Regions from separate parts of the Homo sapiens genome. Here region 1 is linked to region 2. Evidence: promoter capture Hi-C in human tissues and cell types (Jung and others, 2019). All regions are on one chromosome and are shown on one strand. Each heading gives the region's core, a stretch centred on a gene start or on the middle of the fragment in contact. The rest is flanking DNA. Distances are from core to core; before and after follow the strand shown. Region 1 holds the start of SET (SET nuclear proto-oncogene). Region 2 holds the start of PHYHD1 (phytanoyl-CoA dioxygenase domain containing 1).

The links. Contacts are between HindIII fragments. The study calls those that stand out against the background at their distance.
Region 1: a contact is called between a fragment that was not itself captured here and the fragment with the promoter of PHYHD1 in region 2, in 2 of the 25 tissues and cell types used here (dorsolateral prefrontal cortex and lymphoblastoid cells).

The regions. Positions count from the first base shown.
Region 1 is chr9:128,684,071-128,689,705 of GRCh38, reverse strand. SET (SET nuclear proto-oncogene) reads right to left here and starts at 484. Exons shown (of 8, transcript NM_003011.4): 1 at 51-484. The coding sequence starts at 123. It also overlaps a transcript of DYNC2I2 not described here. RefSeq lists a silencer at 115-1,024 and enhancers at 1,311-2,187, 3,538-3,637, 3,678-3,767, 4,973-5,062, 5,476-5,635. The HindIII fragment of the contact is 6,109 bases long and covers 1-5,460 here.
Region 2 is chr9:128,916,257-128,922,231 of GRCh38, reverse strand. PHYHD1 (phytanoyl-CoA dioxygenase domain containing 1) reads right to left here and starts at 1,250. Exons shown (of 13, transcript NM_001100876.2): 1 at 564-1,250; 2 at 185-302. It overlaps LRRC8A (leucine rich repeat containing 8 VRAC subunit A), which reads right to left. Exons shown (of 4, transcript NM_019594.4): 4 at 4,193-5,975. The coding sequence ends at 5,861. The HindIII fragment of the contact is 13,888 bases long and covers 1-5,975 here.

The sequences.
Region 1 (5,635 bases), core at 1,157-3,656, 230 kb after region 2:
GGGCGGCGAAGATGGCGGCGCGGGCCGGCCCCCGGGCTCGCTGCTCTCACCTGAGGTCTCGTCGGCCCCGTCGTGGTTGGAGTTGAGCTCCTTTTTACTGACTTTGGCCGCCGGCGCCGACATGGTGCTGCTCCGCGGTCGGGGGGGGAGCGGGGAGGGGGAGAGAAGGGAAGGCGAAGGGGGCGGGCAAGCGGCTTCCCCTCACGCCACACGCGCGGGCGCCCGCTCGGTCCGGCCGCCTCCTCCCGGCGCTCGCTCGCTCTCCCTCCCCCTCGCTCGCTCGCGCGCGCTACCCTCGCGGCCTGACGCCGAGGGACGGGCTGGGGCGGCGTGCCGGGCCCCGGCCCGGGCTCCTGTTCGCGGAGGGGAGGCGGAGGCGGCGGCGGCGGGCGGCTCGGCTCCCTCACTCGCGCTCGGCGATCCAGCCAGCTCGCTGCTCGCTCTCCCGAGCCGCCTCCTCCTCCACCTCCTCCTACGGCGAGGGGCGGGCGCAGGGCGCAGGCGCGCCAGGCCCCGCGCGGATGCTCCGCCTCCGGCCGGGGAGGCTCGCGCCGCGGCGCCATTGGCCTGGGCGGCGGGATGAGGGGGCGGAGTCGCGGCGCGGAGACACAGGGCCCGGCGAGAGGTGGGAGGAAGGCGCGCGGCGACGCACGGCCGCCCCCCGCGCCGCGTCCCCTCCCCCGCTCTCCCCTCTCCGGCCCGACCCAGGACACTGGCGCGCGGCAGGCCGGTGGGCGGGGCGTCGCACGGAGGCGCGGGTGCCCCCGGCCGGCGCGTCACGTGGTGAGCGAGCGGCTTCCCTGCTCCGCGGGGCACCGGGAGCGGGGCGCCCACCACCCCGAAAGTGCAGGCCCGGCCTCGTATGGGGGCCCCGAATTCCGCCCGGCCTCTCGGCGCCTTCCACTTCGTGGAGAAAGCAGGGGGCACCCCATTCTGGATGCCAGATGGGGAACTGCCGATCGGACTCAAACTCGGGCTCGTGTGCGAAGCCCCAGGCTGTGTAATCCGCGCGCAGGGCCATTCCTGGGTTTTAGTCCAAGCCCTGCCCAGCAAGCTTGTACCCTTGAGCAAGTCACCCTTCCTCTCTGAACCCGTTTCTGTTATGAAATGATAAAGGTTACGACACTGAAGCCACATTAAACTCGAAGTCCTGTGAAGGCAGGGAGGTACCACATTAGTCCGCGGTGCCCAGCGCCCGCAAGAATCATACTGAGCGTTAAGTGCCAGTTTCAGCAGCGCATGGCACGGTTATCTCACCGAGGCCTCACAACAGCCCCAAGCGATAGGCGGTGTTCTGTTCATAGAGATGAAAGGGGCCAACAAGTTCTACTTGAGAGGCAAAGTTCTGAACCACTAAGGAGGGCCAAAGCATTTTGTTTAAATAATACTTTTCAAGTAATGCGGATGCCCCACATTCTGTCCCTCCAGCACCCCAAGACATGAACCATAAAAAGCCAGAAAAACCCTGATTAGTAGCATTTGTTTGTTTGTTTTGAGACGGGAGTCTTGCTCTGTCCCCCAGGCTGGAGTGCAGTGGCGCAATCTTGGCTCACTGCAAGCTCTGCCTCTCGGGTTCAAGCAATTCTCCTGCCTCGGCCTCCCGAGTAGCTGGGGCTACAGGCACGTGCCACCATGCCCGGCTAATTTTTGTATTTTTAGTAGAGATGGAGTTTCACCACCTTGGCCAGGCTGGTCTACTGACCTGGGGTGATCCACTCACCTCGTCCTCCCAAAGTGCTGGGATTACAGGCGGGAGCCACTGCGCCCGGCCAGTACCATTTGTTGATTTTAGTGATACGCTGGCCAATTTCAAATCCTGGCCATGCAATAGCTCACTCCTGTTATCCCAACACTTTGGGAGGCCAAGGCAGGAGGATCGCTTGGGCCCAGGAATTCCAGGCTTCAATGAGCCCCAATGCAGCCACTGCACTGAAGCCTGAGTGACAGAGCAAGACCCTATCTCTAAAACAAAAACAAAAAAATACCTGAAATCTCTCTTTGGACATTTTTAACCAGAACTTGGGGTTGGAATTCTGCCTTCCAGAACTCACACTTTACCATTGGCTCTTTTTTTTTTTTTTTTTTTTTGGTGGGGGAGGGGACCAAGTCTCATTCTGTCTTCCAGGCTGGAGTGCAGTGGTGCCATCTCAGCTCACTGCAACCTCCGCCTCCCGGGTTCAAGTGATTCTCCTGCCTCAGCATCCTGAGTTGCTAGGATTACAGATGTGAGTCACCACGCCCTGCTAATTTTTGTATTTTTTGGTAGAGACAGGTTTTCACCATGTTGGCCAGACTGGTCTCAAACTCCTGACCTCAGGTGATCCACCTGCCTCTGCCTCCCAAAGTGCTGAGATTACAGGCATGAGCCACTGAGCTCGGCCCACTATCAGCTCTTAAAGCTCAAGCAGCATCTTTCATGTTCAAGACAGTGCACGGTGAGTGTCTTAGCCTCCCGAGTATCTGGGATTACAGGCGCCCACTACCATGCCAAGCTAATTTTTGTATTTTTTAGTAGAGACGGGGTTTCACCATGTTGGCCAGGCTGGTCTCGAACTCCCGACCTCAGGTGATCTGCCCACCTCGGCCTCCCAAAGTGCTGGGACTACAGGCATGAGCCACCCACTGTGCCTAGCATAAACTAAACTTTGTTGCAAGTGACAGAACCAAGATTCTAAACCAAGTAGCAATTGACAAAGCCCTTACCTTAAAACAGTTTTTCTATTTTTATTGTTGTTATTATTATGAGACAGGGTCTCTCTCTGTCGCCCAGAACCATGGCTCACTGCAGCCTTGACCTCCTGGGCTCTGGGGATTCTTACACCTCAGCCTTCTGAGTAGCTGGGACCACAGGCAAGCACCACTGCCACCTTGCCTGGCTAATTTTGTTTTTATCTTTTGTAGAGAGGAGGTATCACCATGTTGCCCAGGCTGGTCTCAAACTCCTGAGCTCAAACCATCCTTCAGCCTCAGCCTTCCAGAGCTCTGGGATTACAAGAGTTAGCCATCGCACCCTGCCTCAGTTTTTTTAATGTGACCAACAGTCAGAAGTACTTTTGACATCATGACCTAGCACACACAAACCAAAACTTACCCTTACCAAGGGTGATGTGATTCTAATTTCCTATTTAAAATGCAGGTCACACCCCACCAAATTGATTTCACGACCCGCTCCTGGGCTGAGTCTGTCTGAGAACACTATGCCAAGGGCTGGCTGCTTCCATCCTCAAAGCCTGACCCATAGGGTCACTCCTGACCCACAATGTCTCCTAAGTGCCTTATCTGCCTGTTTCCCAAGCACCTGCAGGGGTCCCAGGGAACCCTGTAATGCCTTCTGATGGGGGAGTGGGCTTTCAGGTTCCCTTTCTGGCCTCCCAACCCTCCCTGCCACCTCCCTGCCCCTCTTTTCCTGCCCTTCCCCACACAGTGCTTCTCAAGATAAATATGAGCACACTAGGAAGTTGAAGAGAAAGAGAAAGCAAAAGGGCCAGGGGTGTGAGTAAACACAGGCGAGCCGGGGGCACACTGAGAGGTTATTCACCCACTCTTAGGACTCTGCTCTCTCCCCGTCTCCAACACCAGAAGCTCTGCATTCTCTCTTCTTGGCCTCTCCCCTCACTCAGAATTCCTCCCTTGCCTCTCTCCTCTCCTCCTGGCCCCTCTGGTTGTTTTTTTTTTTGTTGTTGTTGTTGTTGTTCTTGTCGCCCAGGCTGGAGTGCAATGGCACGAACTCGGCTCATTGCAACCTCCGCCTCCGGAGTTCAAGCAATTCTCCTGCCTTAGCCCCCCAAGTAGCTGGGATTACAGGCATGCATCGTCACGCCTGGCTAACTGTCTTTGGTAGAGATGGGGTTTAGCCATGTTGGCCAGGCTGGTCTTGAACTTCTGACCTCAGGTGATCTGCCCACCTCGGCCTCCCAAAGTGCTGGGATTACAGGCGTCAGCCACCGCGCCCGGCCCCCGGCTCCCTTTGAAGAGGACAGAACCCCACCGCCAGAAAGACTGGAACAGAGAGAGGCTGGCATTCCCCCACAGTGCTGCAGTGTCCCAAGCACAGACCAAAAAATCTCCAGAGCCTGGAACATCTCCCCCGCCACAGACACATACACATCTCTTTGAGCCTCCTGTTCTGATCTGTAAAATTGGGATGTCCACAGCATACGGCTGTGAGGATAGAGAAGTGCTTGGCACAGCTTCTGGCATGCCATCAGTGCCTACTAAGCAGCAGGAGCTGTTCTTTGGGTTTAGATGAACCCCCTCACACCTTTCCATCCCTTCCAGTCCTGTTAATGCTCCCAGGAAGCTCACTGGAAGGAAACTAGGAAGACTCACCCACATTTTGCTGCGCACAAATGCACTCTAGAGCACTGATGATGTGCTAGGCGCTGTCTAGTGCTCCCCTTAGATTTCAGACTCACAGCAAGCCTGGAGATCAGTACTGTGGATCCCATTTTATAGAAGAGAAAACAAGCACAAGTTGTTTTATGTGGCTCACCCAGCAAGGTAGGTTTCAAGCTGGGCAGGAGGTCTCTGCATCCCATGTGGAGGAAAAGGGACTGAGACCCAGTAAAAGTGCCAACAGGTCCACACTGAGCCCTGAGGTAGGACTCCTCCTCAGTGCTTCTTCCATAAGAGTTGCCTGCCCTCAGCCAATCAAAGCTTCCCGTTTCCTTGCAGGCCCTGGGCCTATCCACACCCAGCCCAGGAAGGCTCCACCACAACCCTCCCCTATGAGCCAGACCTAGTCACCAGAACAGTCAACTCTCTATCCAGCTCCAGCTACGTCTCCCAAAATGCAGCCCTCACCTCTAAGTTTAATGGGGGGAAGGGCAGGCATGAAACTGCTGGTTACAATGTAATGACAAGAGGGTGAGGCAGCATGACTCTGGGACTCCTAACTCCCAAGTGTTGGGGCTCACAGATTGCCCACAGGAAGTGACTTTCCAGCAGAGAGCTGGAGGTGGTGCACAGGTAAGGAGAGGAAAGGGCAAGTGGGTGTCTAGGCCCCGAGATCAGAGGGTAGAGTCCCAAGAGGTCAAGGTGAAGGGTACCACCTTGAGGGAGGCCTCCAGGTGGGGAGTCTCAGAAGTGTGAACCAGGAGAGGTCGGCGGGGACCGGGTTGGCGGGCCAGAGAAGTTTCTGAGCACCTGGAGGACGCGGGGAGGCAAGGGAGGGGTTTAAGCCGGGGAGTGGGCCACGTGATTGGCTATGCTCAGGCTGAAGGGGAGGAGGAGGAAGCTGGAAGCCAAGATGAGGAGGTGGCAGAGATTCAGGCCAGAGTTGTGGGCCGCCGTCGGCAGCAAGAACAGAGAGAGAGGTGGACAGATCTGAGAGATACTGAGGTAGAACCACCAGGAATCGGGGATTTGGCTGGATGTGGAGGGGTGAAGGAGGGGCCTCAGGCTGGCTGGCAGTGCCCCTTGCCAAGAAAGGGAGCCCCAGAGGAGGAAGTTTGGGGGCTGGGGAGACAAGCTCAGGGGTCAGTGTTGAGTTGGGGGCAGGGATGAGCTCCCGTGCACTCCCGTTCTCCCAGTCTAGTCCCTTCTGGTTCTTCACGCAAACTTAATCCACCATCCCAGGTTTAAAACCCTTTGGGGGTGCTTAGGGGTCACATCTCAAGAGGGATTGGGGGGTAAA
Region 2 (5,975 bases), core at 1-2,500:
CCCGGAGAAAACCCGGTCCCACCACCCAACCCTCCTTCCCTAGACACAGCCAGATCAGCCTGTGACCTCCAGGCTAATCTCCCCCACCCCCACAACTAATCCAGGATTTGCCCTTTCCCATCTCCAAGGATTTTATCTGCTTCCTCTGTGTTTCTTCTGGAAACCACCCCCCACCACTGCTTACCAGGTGCCGGGAAATTATGCTGTGAGAGGGTCAGGCCAAGCAGCTGGGCTGAGTCCCAGTCCAGGCGCCGCCATTCCCTGTGACTCTGAGGAACGCCTGCCTCTCTCTAGGCCTCAATCTGGATAGAATGGGATGCAGGGTTGGTCTGGGGGATGTGCGGCACCCCCCTTCTCCAGGTAATGGGCATTCCAAAGGTGGAAGAGGTCCTGGGGAGAACTATCTGGGCCCCTCCCAGCACCGATCTGAAACCCTCTCGGTCCTGGGAGGATTATGGAAGGGAATTAACGCATCCATCTGCAGCTCAGACGAAAGTAGGAGACATGGGGTATCTTAGTAGGAGGAAGGGGCTGAGGAGAGAGAGATGCTTCCTGTTACCCACCCTCAGGCCCAAGATACTTGGCATCTCAAGTCGGGCTGGCACAGTGGAGCTGGGGTCAGAACAACACCTGCAGGCCGGGTGCGGCGGCTCGGGCCTGTAATCCCAGCACTTTGGAGGCAGAGGCGCGCGGATCACGAGGTCAGGAAATCGAGACCATCCTGGCTAACACGGTGAAACCCCGTCTCTACTAAAAATACAAAAAATTAGCCGGGCGTGGTGGCGGGCACCTGTAGTCCCAGCTGCTCGCGAGGCTGAGGCAGGAGAATGGCGTGAACGCGGGAGGCGGAGCTTGCAGTGAGCCGAGATTGGGCCACTGCACTAGAGCCTGGGCGACAGAGCGAGACTCGGTCTCAAAATAAATAAATAAATAATAAATAAAAATACCAAAAACTAGCCGAGCATGGTGGCAGGTGCCTGTAGTCCCAGTTACTCGGGAGGCTGAGGCAGGAGAATCGCTTGAACCCAGGAGGCGGAGGTTGCAGTGAGCCGAGATCATGCCACGGCACTCACTCCAGCCTGGACGACAGAGTAAGACTCCATCTCAAAAAACAAAAACAAAAACAAAAAGAGAGAATAACACTTGCACACCACCACCCTTCTCAGCTTGCCCTGCTCAGCAGCTGGCAGGGCCACTCGCTGGCTCTGAAAAACCGGCTGCTGCCTTCCCCAAAATGATGCCTTCTGAATGGCGAAGGGACAAAGTGTTTCAGGAGTGTGCATGGGGACACTGCTCAGCCCTCAAGAGCCTTGGCCTCGAGTCAAGTCGTGTTTGCTGGGCCACCGCTCTGGGAGCTGCTGCTTGGTCCAGGCCGTCCGGGGGGCAGGGGGGAGCAGTAAGTGCAGCTCAGGCTCCTGGTTCAGAGGGGTTAGGCTGGGTGAGGGGCAGGCAGATGACAGAACCACGAGGTTCACTAGAGGCAGGATGTGTTCCCAGCTGTCCTTAACCCTTCTGATGCAACTGCCCAACAAAGACAGATGCCTACCATGTGCCAAGAACACTGAGGTCCCCTCGGACTGGGCCAGCCATTCCCCTGGGAGCCCCCACAGAAGGCTTGTAGTAGAGACTCAGTGAAGCAGACTGTGTTTGCGTCCCAGATGTTCAGGCCTTACTTTCCCAGTCTGTAATTTGGGGCTAGCAGTAGGATCCCCTGTGAGCAGTAAATAAGATGAATGCTTCGCAGCTGATAAAGAGCTTGGCACCAGGCCTGGCGCTGAGTAAGTGCCTACCAACTGGTGAACAAGTTGTTCACCAAATGTTAGCAGGGGCTGTTCTGAGTGGAATATTATTTATTTATTTATTTTTTATTTTATTTATTTTTTTTGAGATGGAGTCTCGCTCTGTCACCCAGGCTGGAGTGCAGTGGCGCAATCTCAGCTCACTGCAAGCTCCGCCTCCCGGGTTCACGCCATTCTCCTGCCTCAGCCTCCCCAGTAGCTGGGCCTACAGGCGCCTGCCACCACGCCTGGCTAATTTTTTATATTTTTTAGTAGAGATGGGGTTTCACCGCGTTAGCCAGGATGGTCTCAATCTCCTGACCTTGTGATCTGCCTGCCTCGGCCTCCCAAAGTGCTGGGATTACAGGCGTGAGCCACCGCGCCCAGCTGGGTGGAATATAATTTAAACAATTTTTTTGAGCTTCCAAAATTGCTGTTACAATCAGAGAGAAGACCACCACAGTGGTTTTAGGCAGAGTGGAGAGCCCTGGGTGGGTGGGGGAGGGGGAGGGGAGAGGCCCAGCCTCCCACTAACTGTTCATTCTGCTCAACTTTGGGAAGTGGGTGGGCGGTGTTTCTACATGGTGGTTTTTTCCAAATGTAAACCAGCTCCAGATCGAACTCTCCTGCTCCAGGCGCTGGACAGCCTCAAGGCCAGGGTGGGGGCGGGAGTGGGGTCGGGGGGTGGTGGGAAGGGTACCAAACTGGGGGAGGGACCTCCACCACGGAAACAGAAAAGAAGGCCCCAGCCCGGCAGTCACAGTCCAGCTGCTCAGCCTGTCAGCCCATGGCAGGGGGAGAAGAGGGAGGGAATCTTGGCTCAGGCCTGAGTTCACCTGGAGGGGTCAGAGTCCCCGTGGAGGGAGGAGGGATAGACTCTGTCCAGTTGTAGAGGAGGTGCCCAAGCAGCCACCCAGGCCTCATCACTAAGGTCAAAGTCAGATATGATGGCCTTTCTTCCTCACCCAGTCTCCTGCCGCAGGGCGCCCACGTTGGCCCACCACAAGGATCCTTGGTCTGGGTGGAAGATACAAGGCCATTTATTGGGTACTAGCAGCCAGGTCCTCCACCAAAAACCCCATCTACCTACATAATCGCCATTGTTCCTTGAACAGTCCTGCAAGTGTGCCATTACCTTCCTGATTTTACAAATGAGAACACTGAAGCCCCACATCAAACACGGCAGAACTGGCATCTGGAAGCAGCTGTCTCAGCCTCTGCCCTTTACCACACTACCTCCCAAAGGCCCCCAAAGGGGCTGGGAGCTGAGGCAGGCTTCCCCACGATGACTCTCAGCCCCACCTCTGTAGACCACTTGGGACTCACTGTTGGAATTGCAAGGGACCTTTGAGAGCACAGAGTGGAAATTCCCATTGTCCACATGGGGATACAGAGGCCACTGGAGAAGGGATCTGCCTAGCTTCATGCACATCCTGTCCCATGAAGCTGGGACAAAGGCCCAGGACTACTGGTTCCCATTCCAGTGCCCTCCTCTCCCATCCCCACCCATCAAAACTCATGAGGGGCCAAGCACGGTGGCTCACGCCTATAATCCCAGCACTTTAGGAGGCTGAGGTGGGTGGATCTCTTGAGCTCAGGGATTCGAGACCAACCTGGGCAACATGGCAAAACCCCGTCCCTACAAAAAATACAAAAATTAGCCAGCACGGCTGGGCGCAGTAGCTCATGTCTGTAATCCCAGCATTTTGGGAGGCTGAGGTAGGTGGATCAGAAGGTCAGGAGATCAAGACCAGCCTGGCCAACATGGTGAAACCCTGTCTCTACTAAAAATACAAAAATTAGCTGGGCATGGTGGCAGGCACCTGTAGTCCCAGCTACTCGTGAGGCTGAGGCAAGAGAATCACTTGAACCTGGGAGGCGGAGGTTGCAGTGAGCCGAGATCGAGCCACTGCATTCCAGCCTGGGTGACAGAGTAAGACTCTGTCTCAAAAAAAAAAAAAAAAAAAAAAAATTAGCCAGCATGCCCCTGTGGTCCTAGCTACTTGGGAGGCCGAGGTGAGATCACCTGAGCCTGGAGAGGTCAAGGCTGCAGTGAGCCGTGATCACGCCACTATATTCCAGCAGTGCACTCTAGGTGACAGAATGAGACCCTGTCAAAAAAACAACAACAACAAAAAAACCCCCTCATGAGTGCCCAACCACAGGTGAGTAGGATGACAGAGATTGTGCTGGCTATGGGATCCCCAGCCCAGGTCACAGCCTGTTACCTAGCAGGTGCTGCGTCCAGCTTACAAGCTCCAGTAACTGCCTCCAAAGGCACAGAGTCTCATGGGGCAGGAGATGAGCAGAGTTAACTCTCCTGTAGGTGCCCAAGCAACGTTCCACACGGCCCGGCAGGCTTCAGAGAAGTGAGGGAAGCGTCCTCCCATGACACAAAGACCTCCAAAGGCCACTTTCTGTTATAGATTTTATTTGATACTGTGACCGAGTCTACAAGTTCAGACCCACATGTAACGGATTTTTGCTTCATGGTTGTCAGAGGCTAGTGTGCATTATTTCTGAGGATTATATCCAATGACACGACGCAGAAAACACAAATGGACGGACAGACGGATGGACATAATCATTAAGACAAGAGACTCTAAAACGTGCCTTAGTGTCCACGTGATTGATCTAAGGCGGGGACCCTTCTAAGGTGGGGACCCGAGTGATCTAAAGCAGGGTGGCTTCCAGCCACCAGGTGCCGACTGGGCTGTGTGCACTCCAGGCGCCAGGGACGGGAACCGGCTTGGAACCAACGCCTGCCCTCCCAGGGGCGACCTCCCCATTCCCGACCAGCCTCTAAGTGTCTGCTCTTCATGAAGGACCAGGTGGTGACAGGGCTGATGGAAGCAGCGGAGGCCAGCGGTGGCACTGGACACACCCATGCCGCAGGCGGTGGGGAAACAAAGTCTGGGCGAAGTGGCTCCTCTTGGCTCCTTAACACTGTGCGTGGAGAGGCAGGGCAGGCACGAGGAGGGGAGGTGCGAATGGAGCACCGTTCATCCGGGGATTAGCCAACCCGAGTCTCCTCCCTCCTTGGCAGCTCCAGAACATTCCCTCTGGCCGACAGCCACAGAAATGAGTGCCTGCCAAGACACATGGAGGAGAAAGAAAACAAGACACCAAAAAAACCCAAAAAACAAACAAAAAAACCTCCCTCCCCAGGAACAAATAGAACTCCTGGACCAAGGTCACACCAGATCCGGAAGACACCCTGCACCCTGCGCCCAGGGAAAGGAAACACAGTTCAACGTCTGGCTGCTTTGCTCAAGGGAAACTGCCACCCTGCCCTGAGACTCCAACTCACTGGCCGTTAGTGTCTTTTTTTTTTTAAGTTTTTTTTTTCTTTTTAATACCCAAACCATCCATTTTCAAAGCTTTTTTTTTAAAAAAATTGTTTTTTGATTAAAAAAAAAAAAACAAAAAACTAAAACTGCCACAAATACTGAAGAGGCAAGCTCCAGGCCTGGCCTTTCCAGCTGGAGGCCTGCTCTCCCGTGGACCGCACCGCAGAGCCCAGCCCGGCACTGCTGGGTGACCGTCCCATGGCTGGTTCGCCCCGGACCACTCTGCTGAAGTCCAGGTGGGTGTTAAATGCCCGGCGGCATCGCTAAATAAGGACAAGGGGAAAAGGCAGCCCACCTTTCCCTGAACACCTTCCATCTGGGCTGAACTTTCTTGGGAATGTATAAGTTATCTGGATGAAGGAGGTGGGAGATGGAGAAAAATAAATACCAAGAACTAAAGTGAGGGTCCCAGGACCTCTGGTGGCAGCTCAGCCCCTGGGGCAGAGCTGGCCTCCAGGGAGGAGACCCTGATTATCCAAATACTGCGCTCTTGAGACTTGCTCTCCTCCACAAGCACTTGCCCTGGGGGACGTGAGTCTCAGAGGGAGAAAAGGGGCCAGCCCCACAGATACTGTCCTCTCGCTCTGGCCTGACTCACAAGCGGCCCCAGGCTCCTGCCCAGCCACGAGGCTGTCCTGGCTGTCCGGGAGTTCTGGGAGAAGCTAGGCCTGCCCCTCCGGGCCTGAGGACTGGGCAGCGGTCCTGCTGCTTGCTGTGCTGGGCCGGCCTCGCTCAGGCCTGCTCCTTGTCAGCCCTCCACAGCCGCTCCTTCACCTCGGGTGGCAGTGTGTTGAACAGGTCCTCCTCCACCACCAAGCCGCTGCGCTTGAGCAGTGGGCACTCGCCC